2 separate regions of the Homo sapiens genome follow, and region 1 is linked to region 2. The links are contacts of gene promoters, found by promoter capture Hi-C in human tissues and cell types (Jung and others, 2019). All regions are on one chromosome and are shown on one strand. The core of a region is centred on a gene start or on the middle of the fragment in contact, and the rest is flanking DNA. Distances in the headings are between cores, read along the strand shown.

Region 1 (4,658 bases), core at 1,739-4,238, 510 kb after region 2:
GGATGTGTAGATTGCAAAAATTTTCTCCTACTCTATGGGTTGTCTGTTTACTCTGCTGATTATTTCTTTTGCTGTGCAGAAGCTTTTTAGTTTAATTAAATCTCATCTATTTATCTTTATCTTGTTGAAGTCTTTGCTTAAGTCAATGTCTAGAAGAGTTTTTCCAATGTTCTAGAATTTTTATGGTTTCAGGTTTTAGATTTAAGTCTTTGATCCATCTCTAGTTGATTTTTGTATAAGGTGAGAGATGAGGATCCAGTTTCGTTATTCTACGTGCGACTTGCCAATTATCTCAGCACCATTTGTTCAATAGAGTGTCCTTTCCCCACTTTATGTTTTTGTTTGTTTTGTTGAAGATCAGTTGACCGTAAGTATTTGGCTTTATTTCTGGGTTCTCTATTCTGTTTTATTGGTCTAAATGCCTGTTTTTATACCAGTACCATGCTGTTTTGGTGACTGTAGCCGTATGCTATAGTTTGAAGTCAGGTAATGTAAGACCTCTAGATTTGTTCTTTTTGCTTAGTCTTGCTTTGGCTATGCAGGCTCTTTTTTGGTTCCATATAAATTTTTTTCTAGTTCTGTGAAGAATGATGATGGTATTTTGATGAGAATTGCATTGAATTTGATGATGGTATTTTGATGGGAATTGCATTGAATTTGTGGATTGCTTTTTGCAGTGTGGTCATTTTCACAACACTGATTCTACCCATCATGAGCATGGTTTGTGTTTCCATTTGTTTGTGTCATCTGTTATTTCTTTCAGCAGTGTTTTGTACTTTTCTTTGTAGAGGTCTTTCAGCTCTTTGGTTAAGTATATTCCTATGTATTTTATTTTATTTTTTTTGTAGGTATTGTAAAAGGGGCTGAGTTCTTGATTTGATTCTCTGCTTGGTAGCTGTTGGTGTATAGTGGTGTATAGCAGAGCTACTGATTTGTATATATTAATTTTGTATCCTAAAACTTTGCTGAATTCATTTACCAGTACCAGAAGCTTTTTGGATAAGTCTTTAGGGTTTTCTAGATACACAATCATTTTCATTAGCAAACAGTGACAGTTTGACTTCCTCTTTATTGATTTGGATGCCCTTTATTTCTTTCTCTTGTCTGATTGCTCTGGCTAGGACTTCCAGTACTAGGGTGAATAGAAGTGGTGAAAGTGGGCATCCTTGTCTTGCTCCAGTTCTCAGGGGGAATGCTTTCAACTTTTCCGCATTCAGTATAATGTTGGCTGTGGGTTTGTCATAGATGGCTTTTATTACCTTAAGGTGTGTTTCTTCTATGCTGATTTTGCTGAGGGTTTTAACCATAAAGGGATGCTAGATTTTGTCAAATGCTTTTTCTGTGTCTATTGAGGTGATCATATGATTTTTGTTTTTAATTCTTTTATGTAGTGTATCACATTTATTGACTTGAGGATGTTAAACCATCCCTAGATGTAAAACCATCCCTAAATCCCTGGTGTGAAACCCACTTGATCATGGTGGATTATCTTTTTGATATGCTGTTGGATTTGCTTAGCTAGTATTTTGTTGAGGATTTTTGCATCTGTGTTCATCAGGGATATTGGTCTGTAGTTTTCTTTTATTTGGAATATCCTTTCCTGGTTTTGGTGTTAGGGTGATATGGACTTCATAGAATGATTTCGGGAGGATTCCCTATTTCTTTGTCTTTTGGAGTAGTGTCAGTAGGATTGGTACCAGTTCTTCTTTGAATGTCTGATAGAATTCAGCTGTGCATCTTTCTGGTCTTGGACTTTTTTTTTTGTTGGTAACTTTTTAATTACCATTGCAATCTTGCTGCTTGTTATTGGTCTGTTCAGTTTCTATGTATTCTTGGTTTAATCTAGGAGGGTTGTATATTTCTACCCATCTCCTTTAGGTTTTCTAGTTTATGCACATAAAGGTGTTCATAATAGCCTTGAATGATTTTTTGTATTTCTGTGGTATTTGTTGTAATATCTCCCATTTCATTTCTAATTGAGCTTATTTGGATTTTCTCTCTTATTTTCTTGGCTAACCTCAATAATTGTTTATTAGTTTTATTTATCTTGTCAAAAAACCAACCTTTTGTTTCACTTAATCTTTTGTATTTTTTTTGTTTCAATTTCATTTAGTTCTGTTCTGATCTTGACTATTTCTTTTCTTCTGCTGGGTTTGGGTTTGGATTGTTTTGTTTCTCCAGTTCTGTGAGGTGTGACCTTACATTGTCTATTTGTGTTCTTTTAGGCTTGGCTTTTTTTTTTTTTTTTTTTTTTTTTTGAGACGGAGTCTTGCTCTGTCACCCAGACTAGAGTGCAGTGGCGCGATCTTGTCTTACTGCCAGCTCTGCCTCCCAGGTTCATGCCATTCTCCTGCCTCAGCCTCCCGAGTAGCTGAGACTACAGGCGCCCACCACCACGCCCAGCTAATTTTTTGTATTTTTAGTAGAGACGTGGTTTCACCATGTTAGCCAGGATGGTCTTGATCTCTTGACCTCGTGATCCGCCTGCCTTGGCCTCCCAAAGTGCTGGGATTACAGGCATGAGCAACCATGCCCAGCCCCTTTCAAACTTTTTGATGTAGGCAGTTAATGCTATTAGCACTGCCTTTGCTGTATCACAGAGGTTTTCATAGGTTGTATCACTATTATCGTTCAGTTCAAATAATTTTTTAATTTCCATCTTGATTTTATTGTTGACCCAACAATCATTCAGGAGCAGGTTATTTAATTTCCATGTATTCGCATGGTTTTGAGGGTTTCTTTTGGAGTTGATTTCCAATTTTATTCCACTGTGGTCTGAGAAAGTACTTGCTATAAGTTCGATTTTCTTAAATTTGTTGAGACTTGTTTTGTGGCTATCATATGGTCTACCTTGAAGAATGTTCCATGTGCTGATGAATAGAATGTATATTCTGCAGTTGTTGGGTAGGATCCTCTGTAAATATCTGTGAAGTGCATTTATTGTAACGTATAGTTTATTGTTTCTTTGTTGACTTTCTGTCTTAAAGACCTGTCTAGTGCTGTCAGTGGAGTATTGAAGTCCCCCACAATTATTGTATTGCTGTCTATCTCATTTGTTAGGTCTAGTAGTAATTGTTTTATAAGTTTGGAAGCTCCAGTATTAGGTGCATATATATTTAGGATTGTGATGTTTTCCTTTTGGACTAGTCCTTTTATTATTGTATTATGTCCCTCTTTGTCTTTTTTAACTGCTGTTGCTTTGAAGTTTATTTTGTCTCAAATAAGAATAGCTACTCCTGCTCACTTTTGTTGTCCATTTGCATAGAATATCTTTTTTCACCCTGTTACCTTAAGTTTATGTGAGTCCTTATGTATCACGAGTCTCTTGAAGATAGCAGATACTTGGTTGGTGAATTCTTATCCGTTTTGCCATTTGGAATATTTTAAGTGGAGAATTTAGGCAATTTGCATTCAATGTTAATATTGACATGTGAAGTACTATTTTGTTCATTGTGCTGTTTTTTTTTTTTTTTTGCCTGAATACCTTGGGTTTTTTTCCATTGTGTTATTTTATAGGTCCTGTGAGATTTATGCTTTAAGGATTTCCTATTTTTGTGTATTTGGAGGATTTGTTTCAAGATTTAGAACTCCTTTTAGTAGTTCTTGTAATGCTGGCTTGGTAGTGGCAAATTCTCTCAGAAGTTTTTTGTCTGACAAAGACAGTATCTTTCCTTCATTTATGCAGCTTAGTTTCACTGGATACAAAGTTCTTGGCTGATAATTGTTTTGTTTAAGAAGGCTAAAGATAGGACCCCAGTCCCTTCTAGCTTGTAGGGTTTCGGCTGAGACATCTGCTGTTAATCTGATAGGTTTTCCTTTATAGGTTACCTGATGCTTTTGCCTCACAGCTCTTAAGATTCTTTCTTTCATCTTGACTTTAGGTAACCTGATGACTGTATGCCTAGGCGATGATCTTTTTGCAATGAATTTCCTAGGTGTTCTTTGAGCTTCTTGTATTCGGATGTCTAGATCTCTAGCAAGGCTGAGGAAGTTTTCCTCAATTATTCCCTCAAATATGTTTTGCAAACTTTTAGATTTCTCTTCTTCCTCAGGAACAGCAATTATTCTTAGGTTTGGTCGTTTATCGTAATCTCAAACTTCTTCGAGGCTTTGTTCATTTTTTAAAAATTCTTTTTTCTTTGTCTTTATCAATTTGGGTTAATTCAAAAGCCTTATATTTGAGCTCTGAAGTTCTTCTACTTGTCCGACTCTATTGCTGAGACTTTTCAGTGCATTTTGCATTTCTCTGAGCGTGTCCTTCATTTCCAGAAGTTGTGATTGTTTTTTATTTATGCTATCTATTTCACTGAACATTTTCCATTCATACCTGTATTATTTTTTGATTTATTTAAGTTGGACTTCACCTTTCTCTGGTGCCTCCTTTTTTTTTTGAGACTGAGTCTTACTCTGTCACCCAGGCTGGAGTGCAGTCACATGATCTCAGCTCACTGCAACCTTTGCCTCCCGGACTGAAGTGATTCTCCTGCTTCAGCCTCCTGAGTAGCTGAGACTATAGGCGAGCACCACCACATCCGGCTATTTTTTTTTTTTGTATTTTTAGTAGAGATTGGGTTTCACCATGTTGGTCAGGCTGGTCTTGAACTCCTGACCTCAGGTGATCTGCCTGCCTCAGCCTCCCAAAGTGCTGGGATTACAGG
Region 2 (5,005 bases), core at 486-2,985:
TATGGTGGAATTTTAATTTAAGACTCTAAATTCTCAGAATTTTACATCTGTTCCTTTTCCAGGATGGGAGATACATCTAATTCCTGTACCCTGCTTCATTAAAAATCAAGCCCCATGAACCCAAAGTAGGAGAGTGGCCATGGGAGGCAGGAGGCTTAATAGAACCACAGAGTTCTGGATGTTTAAAACCTAGGATGCAATTTCTAGTCTATAAAAATCCTCAAGAATTGAACCTCTACTCTACTAAAAAGGCTTTTGTCTTTTTTGAGGATTTTAATGTTTTTCTCCTTCCAAGTTTAGGGGTGATGTGATTTTCTTGGGGAACATGAAGGAAAAATCTTATTTTTGTTGTTTCCTACCTGTAAAATGACATCCTTTATAGAAACAGCATCACTACTAGACACAGTAACAACAGCAATAGTCTGGATTTGTTTTCTGGGTCTCTAACTCATCAAACACAACCCAACACATGAATTATATGTATCAGTGTTTCGATTAACCTGCAGATCTTGCAAAAATGGAGGCTCTAAATCAGTAGATTCTGAATGACGCGTGAGATCCTGCATTTCTAACAGGCTTGCAGGTGATGCTGACACTGCTGGTCCATGGGCCAGACTTTAAGTGGCAAATGCAGCATTATTTCATTTAACCTTCATGCCCACCCCCATCGGCTAGGAATTATTCCATAAATGAGGCCTGAAGTTGGAAAGTTACATAAACTGCCCAAGACCAAAGCGCTTAATAAAGAGTGAGGTGGATATTTCAACCCAGGTCTGTAACCCCCGGCACCTGGTAATCTTCCTACCACACCACAGTCTAATCAAAGAAAGTGAAAAAATAACACGCCTAGGACCCCCAGCAAACTTTCTGGGCATCCTTAAATTACACGTGCTCCTGAATTGATCTCAAACAGACCCGCCCACGAGTCACTCTGGAGACTCCGCAGCCAAAAAACAGGCAAGAGTTACTGAAAGGTGAGGCAGCTCGCGCATGGGGCGCAGACGGGGAGGAGGCAGTACCCTAAGTGGCCGCCGCTTCCCTAGTCAGTTCTACGGCTTGAGGCTCGCTTTGCCACCTATGGGACACTCTGGGAACCCTCCGTCCACGCTTGCAAACCGCCGGGACCTTCCAAGTTTAGGCGGGCGCACACGCGTCCCGACACAGCTGAGTCCAGGAGGCACTCGGGGAGATGCGACCCTGGGGCGGTCACCCAAGCCGGGGCCCGGCGGCCGGCTAGACTGAGCCTCCCGCCCAGCCCCGAGGCTCCCTAGAGAACCGAGCGCGCACCCCAAAACCCTGCTCCTCCGGGGACAGAGGCAGGAAGAGGCCACAGAGAGCCGCCACTTCAGGGAGCCCGAGGAGCACGGCGAGCCGGGTGGGCTCCGGGGGCGGGCAGAGCGTGGGGCGGGGACGGGGCGGGGAGGCCGGGGTCCCGAGAGGGGGAGACCGGAAGGGAACGCCGGGGAGGGGAGGGCTGGGAGCGGCGGTTACAAACCCCACACGCCGAAAAGGCGCGCTCTCTCGTCCGGCCGCACTCACTCACCTCCCCCGTACACGCCGCCGCTCATGGCTGCTGCCGGCGCGACTCCTACCCTAAGGGCTAACTGGCGAAGTGACTGCAGTGGCCGCGACTGCGAGTCTCGAGGAGCGATAGCCCCTGACTCCCTTAACTTCCACCGCCACCCACCTCAGGCAACAAAGCGGCGTCCACACACCCCGGAGCTCAGCCACACTTGCTGGCTCCTCCTATCAGCCAATCACTAGGGTCCAGGCCTAAGTCTAGCCAATCAGAATGCGGCTGCGCCGCATCCCCGCCGCGGCCCAGCAGGTTTAGCCAATCGAAGGCAGCCATGGGGGCGGGAAAGAGGAAAGCGACAGCAGGACAGAAGGAGTTGGGTTGCGGAGCTGGAGGGGGCGGAGCTTCCCGGGTGGGCGAGGGAATGGGCGGAGGCAGTGGGAGAAGAAGGAGGAAGGCTGGAAGAAGCATGGGGGCGGGACTAGGAGGTGCGTCTGGGCGCTGAGGAGCGGCGGGAACCCGGGTAGGGGAAGGTAGACCCCTGGAAATTGAACGGGTGTCTCCACGCCGAGATTCCTGTCCAGTGACTGTGGGGAATGCGGATTTCTTTCTTTTTTTCTTCAGAAAAAGTATTTTAAACTAACTTTTATGTTGAAAAAGTAAAAATTTTGCGCTCCACTTTGGGATAGGGGAATCAGTAAATCAGACAAATTGATAGGATCTTGCAGTTTTTAAAATGGTTATTAATAAGTAAAAGAAGAATGAAATTATGCGGTATCCCAGCTAAACCTAGGTAGCGCTTTAAAAACTATTAAAAAACTTACTCATTTCTTTAAAAAAAAAAAAAAATTTCAGGCCGGGCGTGGTGGCTCATGCGTGTAATCCGAGCACTTTGGTAGGCCGAGGCGGGCAGATCACAAGGTCAGGAGTTCGAGACCAGCCTAGGCAACACAGTGAAACCCTGTGTCTACTAAAAATGAGAAAAGTAGCCGGGCCTGTAGTCCCAGCTACGCAGGAGGCTGAGGCAGGAGAGTCGCTTGAACCCGGGAGGCAGAGGTTGCAGTGAGCCGAGATTGCGCCACTGCACTCCAGCCTGGGCGACAGAGCAAGACTCTGTCTCAAAAAAAAAAAAAATCAATTTCTTTTATCCTGTGAGAGGTATTTAAAACAGCTAATCAATCTTCATTCAAGCAAGCACCCAATCCTAAATAGGCATCCCAAAAACAGCCTTAGTCCCCTATTTCTACCAGCCTAGTCCAGATCACCTTCCTTTATCCCCAGATTACTGCAACAACTTGTTGCTGTGTCCCTTTGCCACTCTTGATCAAGGGAGCTTCATCTGTGAAAACGCCCAAACCCGATCAGGACACTCCAGCGCTCAAACCCTTAAGATTGCTGCCTATCCTTGTAATTGATCCTTGTCTAGAGTCTAGACATGCAGTGCCTACTTTTAACCTTAGAAACGATTGACTAAAACCCCATCAGTCTCAGTGGCAGAGGGTGGCAGAAAGTGATGAGGCAGTAGGGTGGGAAAAAAGGCTAGCGGGAAAACTCTTTCCCATTCACTTGACAATATAATCACAGTGTATCTGACCATTTAGAAAAGCCCTATTAACCCAGTGAGATAATGCAGATGTGTGTCAGCACACTATGGCACTAGGGCCAAATCCAGTCTTTTGTGTGTGGGGTGGGGAGGGGAGGTGGGGAAAAGGGGAAGCAGGTGGGAAGACTGCCTTTTTTTTTTTTTTTTTTTGGCCTTGAGCTAAGAATGATTATTTCTGTTTTTAAATTATTATTTAAAATATTTTAAAGAATAATATGTGACAGGTTGGGCATGGTGGCTCACAGCTGTAATCCTAGCACTTTGGGAGGTCCAAGCAGGAGGATCGCTTGAGGCCAGGAGTTCAAGACCAGCCTGGGCAACACAGGGAGACCCCCGTCTCTACAAAAAATTTTAAAATTATCTGGGTATGGTGGTGCATGCCCCCTAGCTACTCTGGAGGCTAGGGTGAGAGGATTGCTTGAGCCTGGGAGTTCAAAGCTTCAGTGAGTCGTGATCTCCCCACTGCACTCCAGCCTGGGTGACAAAGCAAGTCCCTGAAAAAAAAAAAAAAAAAGAAAAAAAGAAAACAAAAGAAAGAAGGAGAGAGATGTGAAAACTATGTGAAATTCACACTTCAGTGACCTTAAACTAAGTTTTATTAGGACACAGCCCACACTTACTCATTTATGACTATTTTGCTCTGTAAGGGTAGAGTTGAGTAGTTGGGAGACAGAGACTATGTGTCCCACTCAGCTGGAGAATACATTTATTACTGGACCCTTTACAAGAAGAGTTTGCAGACCTGAGCTAACACATGTAATATAACCAGCATAGCGTGCATAAGTACCCTATGTTAACTGTTGTCCCCATTATTATAGCTGTCACTGTAGCTGCATATCAAATCCCCAAAATATTTCTTCTTCCAATCTATGTTTTTATGATGTCTTTGACTAGTAGCTGAAGAGTATAAAATATTGAGATGTTTTCTAATAATTAAATATTGAAGAGATGCTATTTGTGAGTTTATAATACACAGTTATCCATTTAAATCAATGTAGCATTTAAATGCCAAATAATTTATATACAGCAAATTAACTAGATTTTGATATCGCTGAACATTGATATCTCTCTTCAATACTATCTCCAACATCTCTCATGTTTGAAGATAATATATCCTAGAAGTAAAATACCTATCTAGTCTAAAAGAGAGTAAAATATTTGTTCCACTTGTTCAGCATTTATCTTAAAACAAAACAGTTCAAGAGGGTTGATGATGAGGACCACGCCCTCTAGCCTCTGGAAAGCCTGAGATGGGACTGTCTCCTCCCCAGATTTAAAACTGTCCTGCACCGTGTGCAGAGTAACCAAACTGTGCAGGAGAATTGTAAATCTGACAGCACAAAGAAGATGGAAGTGACACTCAGATGATTTTGCTTAAAGTCAGGTTTTGCTCCATTTGATAATTTGGAAAAATACTAGAAAACAGATCATTTGTTTGTTCATTCATTTGTAATATCAGGTTGGCTTGGAATCTCTTGATGTCCCATTGGAACCACGGCTTCATTTAATAATAAGCCATTGAAATGAATTTCAAAGGAAATAAACTTCACATTACATCTGATGTTTCAGGACAAATCACATGTTGACACAGATAAAAGTGCACACTTGTGAATCCTTTGATAAATTTTAATCAATAAAAAATGTAATAGGACACTAAGACTATTGGCCCTGAAATATTGAATTGCTGGAGCATGAGATTGTTCAGAAAGAAAACCTATTCAGCCTTCTAAAAGAACTATGTCGGTGGATGGGCATCCTCCATATTAATGACGTTATTTCCTTTGACTTAACAGTATGGCTGTTTTCTATTCTTTTTTTTTTTTTTTTTTTTTTTTTTTTTGTAAAACAGAGTCTCGCTCTATAGCCCAGGCTGGAGTGCAGTGGCA

What was found. Contacts are between HindIII fragments. The study calls those that stand out against the background at their distance.
Region 1: a contact is called between a fragment that was not itself captured here and the fragment with the promoter of ACTL6A in region 2, in 1 of the 25 tissues and cell types used here (dorsolateral prefrontal cortex).

The regions. Positions count from the first base shown.
Region 1 is chr3:179,047,592-179,052,249 of GRCh38, reverse strand. All of the region lies in intron 2 of ZMAT3 (zinc finger matrin-type 3), which reads left to right. Among named protein-coding and RNA genes, the nearest start is that of ZMAT3, 22 kb to the left of the region's middle. The HindIII fragment of the contact is 4,901 bases long and covers 538-4,658 here.
Region 2 is chr3:179,559,656-179,564,660 of GRCh38, reverse strand. It overlaps ACTL6A (actin like 6A), which reads right to left and starts at 1,735. Exons shown (of 14, transcript NM_004301.5): 1 at 1,544-1,735. The coding sequence starts at 1,568. RefSeq lists a silencer at 1,644-1,873. The HindIII fragment of the contact is 12,889 bases long and covers 1-5,005 here.